Linked DNA regions of Homo sapiens: region 1 is linked to region 2. Evidence: promoter capture Hi-C in human tissues and cell types (Jung and others, 2019). All regions are on one chromosome and are shown on one strand. Each heading gives the region's core, a stretch centred on a gene start or on the middle of the fragment in contact. The rest is flanking DNA. Distances are from core to core; before and after follow the strand shown.

Region 1 (5,152 bases), core at 1,213-3,712, 580 kb before region 2:
AAGCACAGGCGTGAGCCACCACATCCGGCTAATTTTTTAAACTTTTTTTCGTAGAGACACGGTCTCCCTGTTTCCCAGGCTGGTCTCAAACTCCTGGACTCTAGCGATCCCCCCAGCTTGAGCTCCCAAATTGCTGGGATTCCCGTCGTGAGCCACCATGTCCAGTCTAACTGTCTTTTAAAGAAGTTTAAAAATTACTCTCTAGCTGCGCAAGGTGGTTGGTGCCTGTAATCCCAGCAGTGTGGGAGGCTCTGGTGGGAGGACCACTCGAGCCCAGGAGGCTGAGGCTGCAGTGAGCCACGATAGCGGCACTGCACTGCAGCCTGGGCGACAGAGCGAGATCCTGACTCAAAAAAAAAAAAAAAAAGAAAAGAAAAGAAAAAGAAAAGAAAAAAGAAGAAAACACTTAAAGGATGACATCATTTTCGGGCGTTTCGTCCTTTGGGATTTGCCGTTTTCAGGATTTCACACCGTAGGGATGTTGATCTCTTGTGACTTCAACACTCCGGGTTCTGCTCTTCAAGACTCTGGCTGAGGTCTGTTTCAAACAGAGCCCAAACACGCAGATCTGTCGTCATCTAGGTCCCGTCTGCCCTGTGTGCCCTGTGAAATGGTGCCAAACATCCGCTAGCCACAGAAAAACCGACACCTGAGAGCTGTCGGTCCCCCAGCCCCGGCTGCCCTTCAGACGGTACCGACCGCGGCTCCCGCCGGGCTGCTGAGTGTGTCACTGTCGCCCAGCACACGAGCCCCTCTCCGATCCCCCGAGTTCCTCACCGAGTCCCTTACCCCCGGAAGTCCCTCGCTCTCCTCCCTTCCCCCCGGAAGTCCCTCGCTCTCCTCCCTTCCCCCCGGAAGTCCCTCGCTCTCCTCCCTTCCCCCCGGAAGTCCCTCGCTCTCCTCCCTTCCCCCCGGAAGTCCCTCGCTCTCCTCCCTTCCCCCCGGAAGTCCCTCGCTCTCCTCCCTTCCCCCCGGAAGTCCCTCGCTCTCCTCCCTTCCCCCCGGAAGTCCCTCGCTCTCCTCCCCTTCTGAGCGGTGACCCCCACCCCGAAGCCGGCGAGGCACCGCGGAACCCGGTCTGCCTGCGCTACCGCCCCCTGCTGGCCAGGCCCTCTTCCCAATCGCCCCGAAACCATTCACATCACCCACGTGTGCACGTTTTGTCCACATTTAGATCCCTGATCCATTTGCAGCTTATTCCTGTGAACGGTGTAATTTTTTGGGGGGCGGGGGGAAGGCGGGGTCTCGCTCTGTCACCCAGGCTGGAGTGCAGTGGCGCCATCTCGGCTCACTGCAAGCTCCACCTCCCGGGCTCAACCAATTCTCCTGCCTCAGCCCCCTGAGTAGCTGGGATTACAGGCCCGCACCACCATGCCTGGCTAACTTTCGTATTTTTAGTACAGATGGGGTTTTTCTTTTCTTTTCTTTTCTTTTGAGATGGAGTCTCACTGCTGCCCAGGCTGGAGTGCAGTGGCGCGATCTCGGCTCGCTGCAAGCTCCGCCTCCCGGGTTCACGCCATTCTCCTGGCTCAGCCTCCCGAGTAGCTGGGACTACAGGCGCCCGCCACCACGCCCGGCTAATTTTTTTGTATTTTTAGTAGAGACGGGGTTTCACTGTGTTAACAAGGATGGTCTCGATCTCCTGACCTCGTGATCCGCCTGCCTCGGCCTCCCAAAGTGCTGGGATCACAGGCGCGAGCCACTGCGCCTGCCCGAGATGGGGTTTCACCATGTTGGCCAGGCTGGTCTCGAACTCCTGATCTCAACTGATCTGCCCCCCCTTGGCCTCCCAAAGTGCTAGGATTACAGGCGTGAGCCGCCACACTCGACCTGAACGGTGTAATTTATACATGTAAAACCATCTTGTTCAGACAGCTCACCAGTTGTCCTAGCACCTTTCATTACAAACTGCATTTTTGCCCCACTGATCTGAAATACCCACTTTATTAACTAAATTTCCATGTTGCTAGGTCTATTTCCAGATATTCCATTTTTGTCCATCTGTCTGCTTCCTGGTCATGTGTCACATACCTTAATTACAGCGGCTTTAGAGGATGCTGCAGTGTCCACAGGGAAGCATCAGTTTTGTCTCCTGGGTTTCTTGGGCACCATCAGACGTCTGTGCCCCCACATGAACTTCAGCGTCAATCTGCATTAACTCCACAAAAAGCTTTTGGTGCTGTTGTAACTGGGATTATGTTTCATTTCTGAATTAAGAATGGGATTTTTATGATGTTGTCATCCCATCAAAGAACAAGGAATTTGCCCGTTTGTTCAAGTCTATGTGGTTTTTTTTTTTTTTTTTTTTTTTTTTTTTTTTTTTTGAGACAGTCTTGCTCTGCCACCCAGGCTGGAGTGCAGTGGTGTGATCTTGGCTCACTGCAAGCTCCACCTCCTGAGTTCACACCATTCTCCTGTCTCAGCCTCCTAAGCAGCTGGGACTACAGGCGCCCGCCACCACACCTGGCTAACTTTTTGTATTTTTCATAGAGATGGGGTTTCACCATGTTAGCCAGGATGGTCTCGATCTCCTGACCTCGTGATCCACCCGCCTCAGCCTCCCAAAGTGCTGGGATTGCAGGCGTGAGCCATCGCGCCTGGCCTAGAAGTTTTTAATTAGCCTGGTGTGGTGGTGTGCACCTGTAGTCTCAGCTACTTGAGAGGATGAGGAGGAAGGATCGCTTGAGCCCTGGAGGTCGAGGCTGCAGTGAGCTGTGATCACACCACTGCACTGCAGCCTGTGGGACAGAGCAAATCCCCATCTAAAAAAAAAAAGTGTTTTAAAGTTTCCTCATGGCCGGGCACGGCCCGGTGGCTCACGCCTGTAACCCCAGCATTTTGGGAGGCCGAGACGGACAGATCATGAGGTCAGGAGTTTGAGACCAGCCAGGCCAACATGGTGAAATCCCGTCTCTACTAAAAATACAAAAATTAGCCGGGCGTGGTGGCAGGTACCTGTAATACCAGCTACTTGGGAGGCTGAGGCAGGAGAATCACTTGAACCCAGGAGGTGGAGGTTGCAGTGAGCCGAGATCATGCCACTGCACTCCAGCCTGGATGACAGAGCGAGACTCTGTCTCAAACAAACAAACAAACAAAAAGTTTCCTCATTTAGGTTTTATACATTTCTTGATAAATTTATTTCTAAGCATTGTTTTATTGCTATTATAAATAAGTTTTCTCTACTATCATATCACCTCACTGGTTATTGGTTGTGTAGATGAAGACCATCTATGTTTTGACGGCAACTTCACCTCCTCTAACTTACTAAATGTTTTTACTGATTCTACAGGGCTTTCCATGTATATCATATAATGCACACAAGAGATAGTTCACTTTTTTGCAAATCTGTTTTGCCCAATTGCATTAGGTAACACTTCCAGTACACACACACACACATATAGCTACAGACACAGGCGTCCTAAGAAAGTATTCACCAATTCCTATTTTGAGTGCGTCTATCAATAGTAGGTACCACATTTTCCCAAAGGCTTCATCAACACCTATGGATACAATCACATGCCTTATCTTCTTAGATGGATTCATATGGTGTAGTATTTAATAGGCTTTCTAATTGAACCAGTTGCAGTCTTAAATTCCACTTGGTCATGGTTTATTATTTTCTCAATGTGGTTTTGTATTATTTGCTAATATTTAACATAACTAATTTGAATCAATATAATTAACACTGTAATTTTTCATTTTTGTGGTCTTTTATCACATTTTGCTTTTAACTTTTATTTATGAGATGGAGTTTTGCTCTTGTTGCCCAGGCTGGAGTGCAATGGCGCTATCTCGGCTCATTGCAACCTCCACCTCCCGGGTTCAAGAGATTCTCCTGCCTCAGCCTCCCAAGTAGCTGGGATCACAGGTGCCTGCCACCATGCCCGGCTAATTTTGTATTTTTAGTACAGACAGGGTTTCGCCATGTTGCCCAGGCTGGTCTTGAACTGCTGGCCTTAAGTGAGCCAGCCACCTCAGCCTCCCAAAGTGTTGGGATTACAGGCATCAGCCACTGCACTCAACACCCTGTGGTAATTTTCTTTGTGCTGAAGTCATTTTTTCTGATGTTAAATACAGCCTCTCCACTTTATTATGTTTACATGGTACTATTAACCTATTTACGTCATTGTATTTGAAGTGTCTTGTAGATGACATACTGATGCGTCACACTTTTTATCTGTCCTATCTTTAAATAGCATGTGTAGATCATATTTTTTTTTTGAGATGAAGTCTTGCTCTGTTGCCCAGTCTGGAGTGCAGTGGCACGATCTTGGCTCATTGCAACCTCCACCTCCTGGGTTCAAATGATTCTCCTGCCTCAGGTTCCTGAGTAGCTGCGACCACAGGCATGAGCCACCAAACCTGGCTAATTTTTGTATTTTTAGTAGAGACAAGGTTTTACCGTGTTGGCCAGGCTGGTCTGGAACTCCTGACCTCAAGTGATCCACCCGCCTCGGCCTCCCAAAGTGCTGGGATTACAGGCGTGAGTGCCCAGCTGATCATGTGCACTAATGTGTTTGATTATCTAGGATTCAGCTCTACCAGTTATTTTTTATTTTTTATTTTAGACAGAGTCTTGCTGTCACCCAGGCTGGAGTACAGTGGCGCGATCTCAGCTCACTGCCACCTCCACCTCCCCGGTTCAAGTGATTCTCCTACCTCAGCCTCCCACGTAGCTCGAATTATAGGCTCCCACCATCACCCCTGGCTAACTTTGTATTTTTAGTAGAGACGGGATTTCACTATGTTGGCCAGACTGGTCTGACTCCTGACCTCAAGTGATCCGCCCGCCTCGGTCTCCCACAGTGCTGGGATGACAGGCCTGAGCCACCGCACCTGGCCACCACTTCGTTACCTACTTGTTCTCTTTTGTTCCCAGTACTCAGTTTCCCCTTTATCACAATTCTTTCAGGCTATTTAACACTTTTTTTAGTAGTATGTTTTAATTAACATATTGGACCATTTTAGTATATCTCATTGTCCTTTTTTTTTTTAGACAGAGTCTTGCTCTGTCACCCAGGCTGGAGTGCCGTGGCACAATCTCGACTGACTGCAACCTCCACCTCCTGGGTTCAAGTGATTCTCCTGCCTCAGCCTCCTGAGAAGCTGAGATTACAGGTGCCCCCAACCACACACAGCTAATTTTTGT
Region 2 (5,103 bases), core at 2,204-4,703:
GTTATCTAAAACTTAAAAAAATAGGGCCAGGCACAGTGGCTCACGCCTGCAATCGCAGCACTTTGGGAGGCTGAGGCGGGCGGATCACAAGGTCAGGAGATCGAGACCATCCTGGCTAACACAGTGAAACCCCGTCTCTACTAAAAATAACAAAAAAAAGTAGCCGGTCGTGGTGGTGGGCGCCTGTAGTCCCAGCTACTTGGGAGGCTGAGGCAGGAGAATGGCGTGAACGTGGGAGGCGGAGGTTGCAGTGAGCCGAGATCACGCCACTGCACTCCAGCCTGGGTGACAGACCGAGACTCTGTCTCAAAAAAAAAAAAAAAAATAATAATAATAAAAACGCCAGGCATGGTGGCTCACGCCTGTAATCCCAGTGCTTTGGGAGGCCGAGGCAGGCGTATCACTTGAGGCAAGGAGTCTGAGACCAGCCTGGCCAAACATGGCGAAACCCCGTCTCTACTAAAAATACAAAAATTTGCCGGGCCTGCTGGTGCACGCTTGTAATCCCAGCTACTTGGGAGGCTGAGGCATGAGAATCACTTGAAACCAGGAGGCAGAAGTTGCAGTGAGCTATGATTGCCCCCCTGCACTCCAGCCTGGGTGACACAGCGAGACTCTGTCTAAAAAAAAAAAAAAGAGCAGCCTGGGCAACACAGTAAGACCTCCATCTCTACAAAATAAAAAATAAAAATTAGTCAGGAGTGGTGGCACTTATCACAGCTACTTGGGAGGCTGAAGTGGGAGGATCACCTGAGCCCAGGAGGTTGAGGCTGCTGTGAGCTGATGGTGCCATCGCACTCCAGCCTGGACAACAGAGTGAGACCCTGTCTCTAAACAAAAATAAATTGTTTTTTTTTCTACTGGACTTAAACAATCTGCCCTCCTTGGCCTCCCAAAGCACCAAGCCTGTGTCTTCTTTTTCATCACAGCCGTGGCAGAAGGAAGGAGGTGACTGGAAGCCCCACTCTCTCTGAGTAGCTGAGGGAATACACCCTGACTATAGGCCGAGACAGTCCACATCAGCTCTTCAATAGGATTTAGTGGCTTTGCATAAAATGGAAAAGCAGCTGTGATTGCAAGAGAAATTAAAAATAACCACCATCTGAAATGCAAATTGAAAACAGTGAGACAACACATGTCACTCTGGCAGGTGACCCACTGTGCTGGTGAAGGCATGCAGGCACTCTCAGACTTCCGCAGAGAGACCTGAGTAATCAATTGACTTCCACAAAGGGCGACTTGCCAACAGCTATCAAAAGTACTCAGGCACATCCCACTTGGCCCAGCAATTCCACTTCCAGGAATTTCTCCTGCAGAAATACATGTGCACAAACAACGTAGGAAAGCACTGTTTATAGTAACAACCCAACTAGGACAGACCAGGTATATTTAGACAACAAACAAGGAAGCTTTTTACTAAATTGGGATGATCTCTAAGAAGAAGGTACGTAGAAAAAGCAAGGTGGGAGAACACGCTATGTGCTTGTACTATGCACGTCAATGAAAAAATACACAAAGAATTGACAGGCCAGGTGGAGTGGCTCACACCTAATCCCAGTACTTTGGAAGACTGAGATGGGAGGGTTCCCTGAGGCCAGGACTTCAAATCAGCCTGGGCAACATAGCAAGACCCCCCCACATCTCTACAAAAAAATTAAGAAAAAAATTAGCCGGGCATGGTGGTGTGTACCTGTAGTCCCAACTACTGAGGAAACTGAGGTGGGAAGATCCCTTGAGCCAGGAGGTCGAGGCTGCATGGAGCTTTGATCGTACCACTGCCCTCCAGCCTGAGCAACAGAGTGAGAAAAAAAACAGACTTTTTTTCTATTTCTGGAAAAAAATAAAGAATTTATAAGTATGATGGTTCTGGTAATAGAAGTAGGTGGCTAGGCAGAGTGGACACTTCACACTGCATACTCCCCTATTTTCCGAAATCTGAGTTTTTTTTTTTTTTTTTTTTTTTTTTGAGATGGAGTCTTGCTCTGTCACCCTGGCTGGAGTACAGCAGCACCATCTCGGCTCACTGCAACTTCCGCCTCCTGAGTTCAAGCAATTGTCCTGCCTCAGCCTCCCCAGTAGCTGGGATTACAGGCGTGCACCACACGCCCACCTAATTATTGTATTTTTAGTAGAGACAGGGTTTCACCATGTTGGCCAGGCTGGTCTCAAACTCCTGACCTCGTGATCCGCCCACCTCGGCCTCCCAAAGTGCTGGGATTACAGGTGTGAGCCACCATGCCCAGCCAATCTGAGCTATTTAAAAACTAAAGGTAAAATTTTAAAAGGGGAAGGGGAAAATGGGAAGTCATTGTTTTAAGGGGACAGAGTTTCTGTTTGGGGTGAGAAAACTCTAGAAATAGTGGGGGCGTGGCACATGATTGGAATGAATGGCAGGGAACGGCACGCTTAAATGTTCCTGTACGTTTCACAGGAGAAGTCAATGCACACACAAGCGCCGCAACCCAGTCCAAGGCTTTGCTCCTACAGGGCCTTACAGGGGGTATTTGAGACGCCCACCTTAATGCAGGTTGGACCCAGCTCCGGGCTGCGGGGCTTCCCCGCCCCGGGGTCTTTCGTGTGAGCCCCGTGGCGGGGGATCCTGGCCCAGGACATGGCGCGGAGAAGGCTGTGGGCGGCGGGACAGGGTGCCTTCGGCTGCCGGGTTAAGAGTGGATCCCGGGATACATCCTCCAGCGCCTGCCCTCGGGCCTGTGTGCACCCCCATACCCAGCGGGGCCGTCCAAGAGCTTCAAGGAGGGCACAGCGCGACCCGCCCTCCCCTCAGCCCCGCACACCGTCCCACGGCCCCGCACAGCCTCCCTCCCACACAGCGCCCCACGGCACCCGCACAGCGCCCCACGGCCCCTTCATGGTCCCCGCACAGCGCCTCACAACCCGCACACAGCGCCTCACGGACCCTTTACGGCCCCCGCAGAGTCTCCCACACGGCGCCCCACACAGAGCCTCACGGACCCCGCACAGCGCCTCAAGGTCTCCGCACAGCCCCCAGCACAGCGCCTCACACAGCCCTTCGCACAGCCCCCCGCACAGCTCCTCACGGGCCCCACACAGCTGCCGCACAGCCCCGCACAAGCCCGCACAGCACCAGCAGACAGGTAGCCCCCACAGGCAACAGCGCCCACCTCGCCGCGCCCAGACCCCGGATCGCCGACGCGGACGCCAGGCGCCTGGGCACACGGCGCCTGCGCAGACAACACCACGCCCCAGGCCTGGCGAGCGCACCCTGCGGGTGGGGCGGACCTACGTCAGCAACCCATCGTCCGATCCCGTCCATTGGCTGAGAGGTAATGCGTGCGCCCGACTCGCCGCTGATTGGTCGGCGCGCGAGCAGCCGGGCTCGCACGGGCCAATCCTGTGGTAGCGCGTGAGGAGGCAGAGGCCTCTGGGGTGGGATCGCGGGCCGTAAGTGGCTGTGGAGCTGGGGTCACTGCGCGGTGGGACCATGGCCTCGGAGAAGCCGCTGGCGGCAGTCACTTGTACAGCGCCGGTCAACATCGCGGTCATCAAGTACTGTGAGTGCCGCGGGCCGGCCTGGGACGGGGATGGCCGGGAGCGAGGCCGGGTACGCGGGGGTCGCGCGCTGATTCGGCGGCGCGCTCCGTCCTGCCCTCCCAGGGCCTCGACAGACGGGGAAACTGAGGCTCAGGGAGGGGCGCGGCGGTGGTCGGGCGGGGCCGCGCGCTCCTTCGCGTGACAAGCTCGGCGCCACCCGTTCCCCCGCGACGGCTGCCGCCCCTGCAGGGTCGCCCGGCGCCTGCCCATTAGCGATTACCGAACTATCGAAATCATCAATCATCGATTCCCATGAATCGTAAGAATCCGCCGTGGTGGTGCGCGTTTGTGGCTCCAGCTACTCGGGAGGCTGAGGCGGGAGGATGGCCAGAGCCCGGGAGGTCGAGGCTGCAGTGAGCGGAAATCGCGCCACTGCTCCCCCAGCCCGAGACCCTGTGTCCCTCCCTCGCCCCGTTTCTCCCAGCGGTAACCTCCAAGGAGCGGTAATGGGGGGCCCGCAGGCCCACATCCGTGCCGGGGAGGCCGGTCCGCACCTGTGCGTTCACAGCCCCGCCCCTCCCCTCGCGCCGGGGTTACCTGGCCGCCACTGACCACTCATTTCTGTAACGTCATTTCAAAATGTTCTGAAACTGGAATCGCAGTTATGTGGCCCACCCAGTATCTTTTGAGTTTGGCTTATTTCATTCAGCATAGAATGTGGACGTGCCCCGGGATTGTATCAGTGCTTTGCCCCTCTGTTGCTGAGCCAGTCCGTGGAATCCATGGACCACCCTCTCTCTAGCCAAGGCCTCACCCCGCAAAGAGCATCTAACGTTTTCTTTCTTTCTTTCTTTTCTTTCCAGAAGCCGCCACCACGACTGGCTAATTTTTTTGTGTTTCCCTTACCAATAAAGCTGCCATAAAATGTTGTATACAGGTTTTTGTGTGAACATACATTTCCATTCTTCTGGGATAAATGCCCAGGAGTGCGGTTGCTGGGTCAGATGGTAGATATATATATATGCCTCTCTGTCTCTCTCTCTCTTTCTATGTATATATGTATGTTTGTGTGTGTGTATATATATATACACCTGTATAGATATATGTGTGTGTATATGTATACACCTATATAGATGTATGTGTGTGTATATATACATATATATATTATATATATACTTTTTTTTTTTAAAGAAACTGTCTAATTGTTTTTCAGAGTGGCTGGGCCATTTTGCATCCCTACGGTGATGCAGATTTTCCGCATCCTCACCAGCATTTGGTGGAGTTGCTGTTTTTCATTTTAGCCGCGTCCTGGTAGGGATGTGCTGGCAGGGTGCTGTGGTCCTCATTCGCGTTTCCCTGTTGGCCAGTGACGTGGAGCATCTTTCTTTGTGCTTATTTGCCATCTGTGGGTTTTCTTGGTGAAATCTCTCTTCATATTCTGTGTCCACGCTCGAACTGGATGGTTTGCTTTTTTACTATAAGTTTGGAGAGTTCATTACACATTCTAGGCTGGGCACGCTGGCTCAAGCCTGTAATCCCAGCACTTGGGGAGGCTGAGGTGGGCGGATCACCTGAGGTCAGGAGTTTGAG

Evidence for each region. The method cuts DNA at HindIII sites, captures the fragments that hold promoters and counts their contacts. A contact is called where the count stands out against the background at its distance.
Region 1: a contact is called between a fragment that was not itself captured here and the fragment with the promoter of MVD in region 2, in 1 of the 25 tissues and cell types used here (dorsolateral prefrontal cortex).

The regions. Positions count from the first base shown.
Region 1 is chr16:89,236,917-89,242,068 of GRCh38, reverse strand. It overlaps ZNF778 (zinc finger protein 778), which reads right to left. Exons shown (of 7, transcript NM_001201407.2): 7 at 4,928-5,152. Among named protein-coding and RNA genes, the nearest start is that of ZNF778, 22 kb to the right of the region's middle. RefSeq lists an enhancer at 1-444 and a silencer at 952-1,041. The HindIII fragment of the contact is 4,092 bases long and covers 417-4,508 here.
Region 2 is chr16:88,661,441-88,666,543 of GRCh38, reverse strand. MVD (mevalonate diphosphate decarboxylase) reads left to right here and starts at 3,453. Exons shown (of 10, transcript NM_002461.3): 1 at 3,453-3,533. The coding sequence starts at 3,464. It overlaps SNAI3-AS1 (SNAI3 antisense RNA 1), which reads right to left and starts at 3,171. Exons shown (of 4, transcript NR_024399.1): 1 at 3,144-3,171. RefSeq lists silencers at 2,789-2,948, 3,289-3,708 and an enhancer at 3,159-3,208. The HindIII fragment of the contact is 7,255 bases long and covers 261-5,103 here.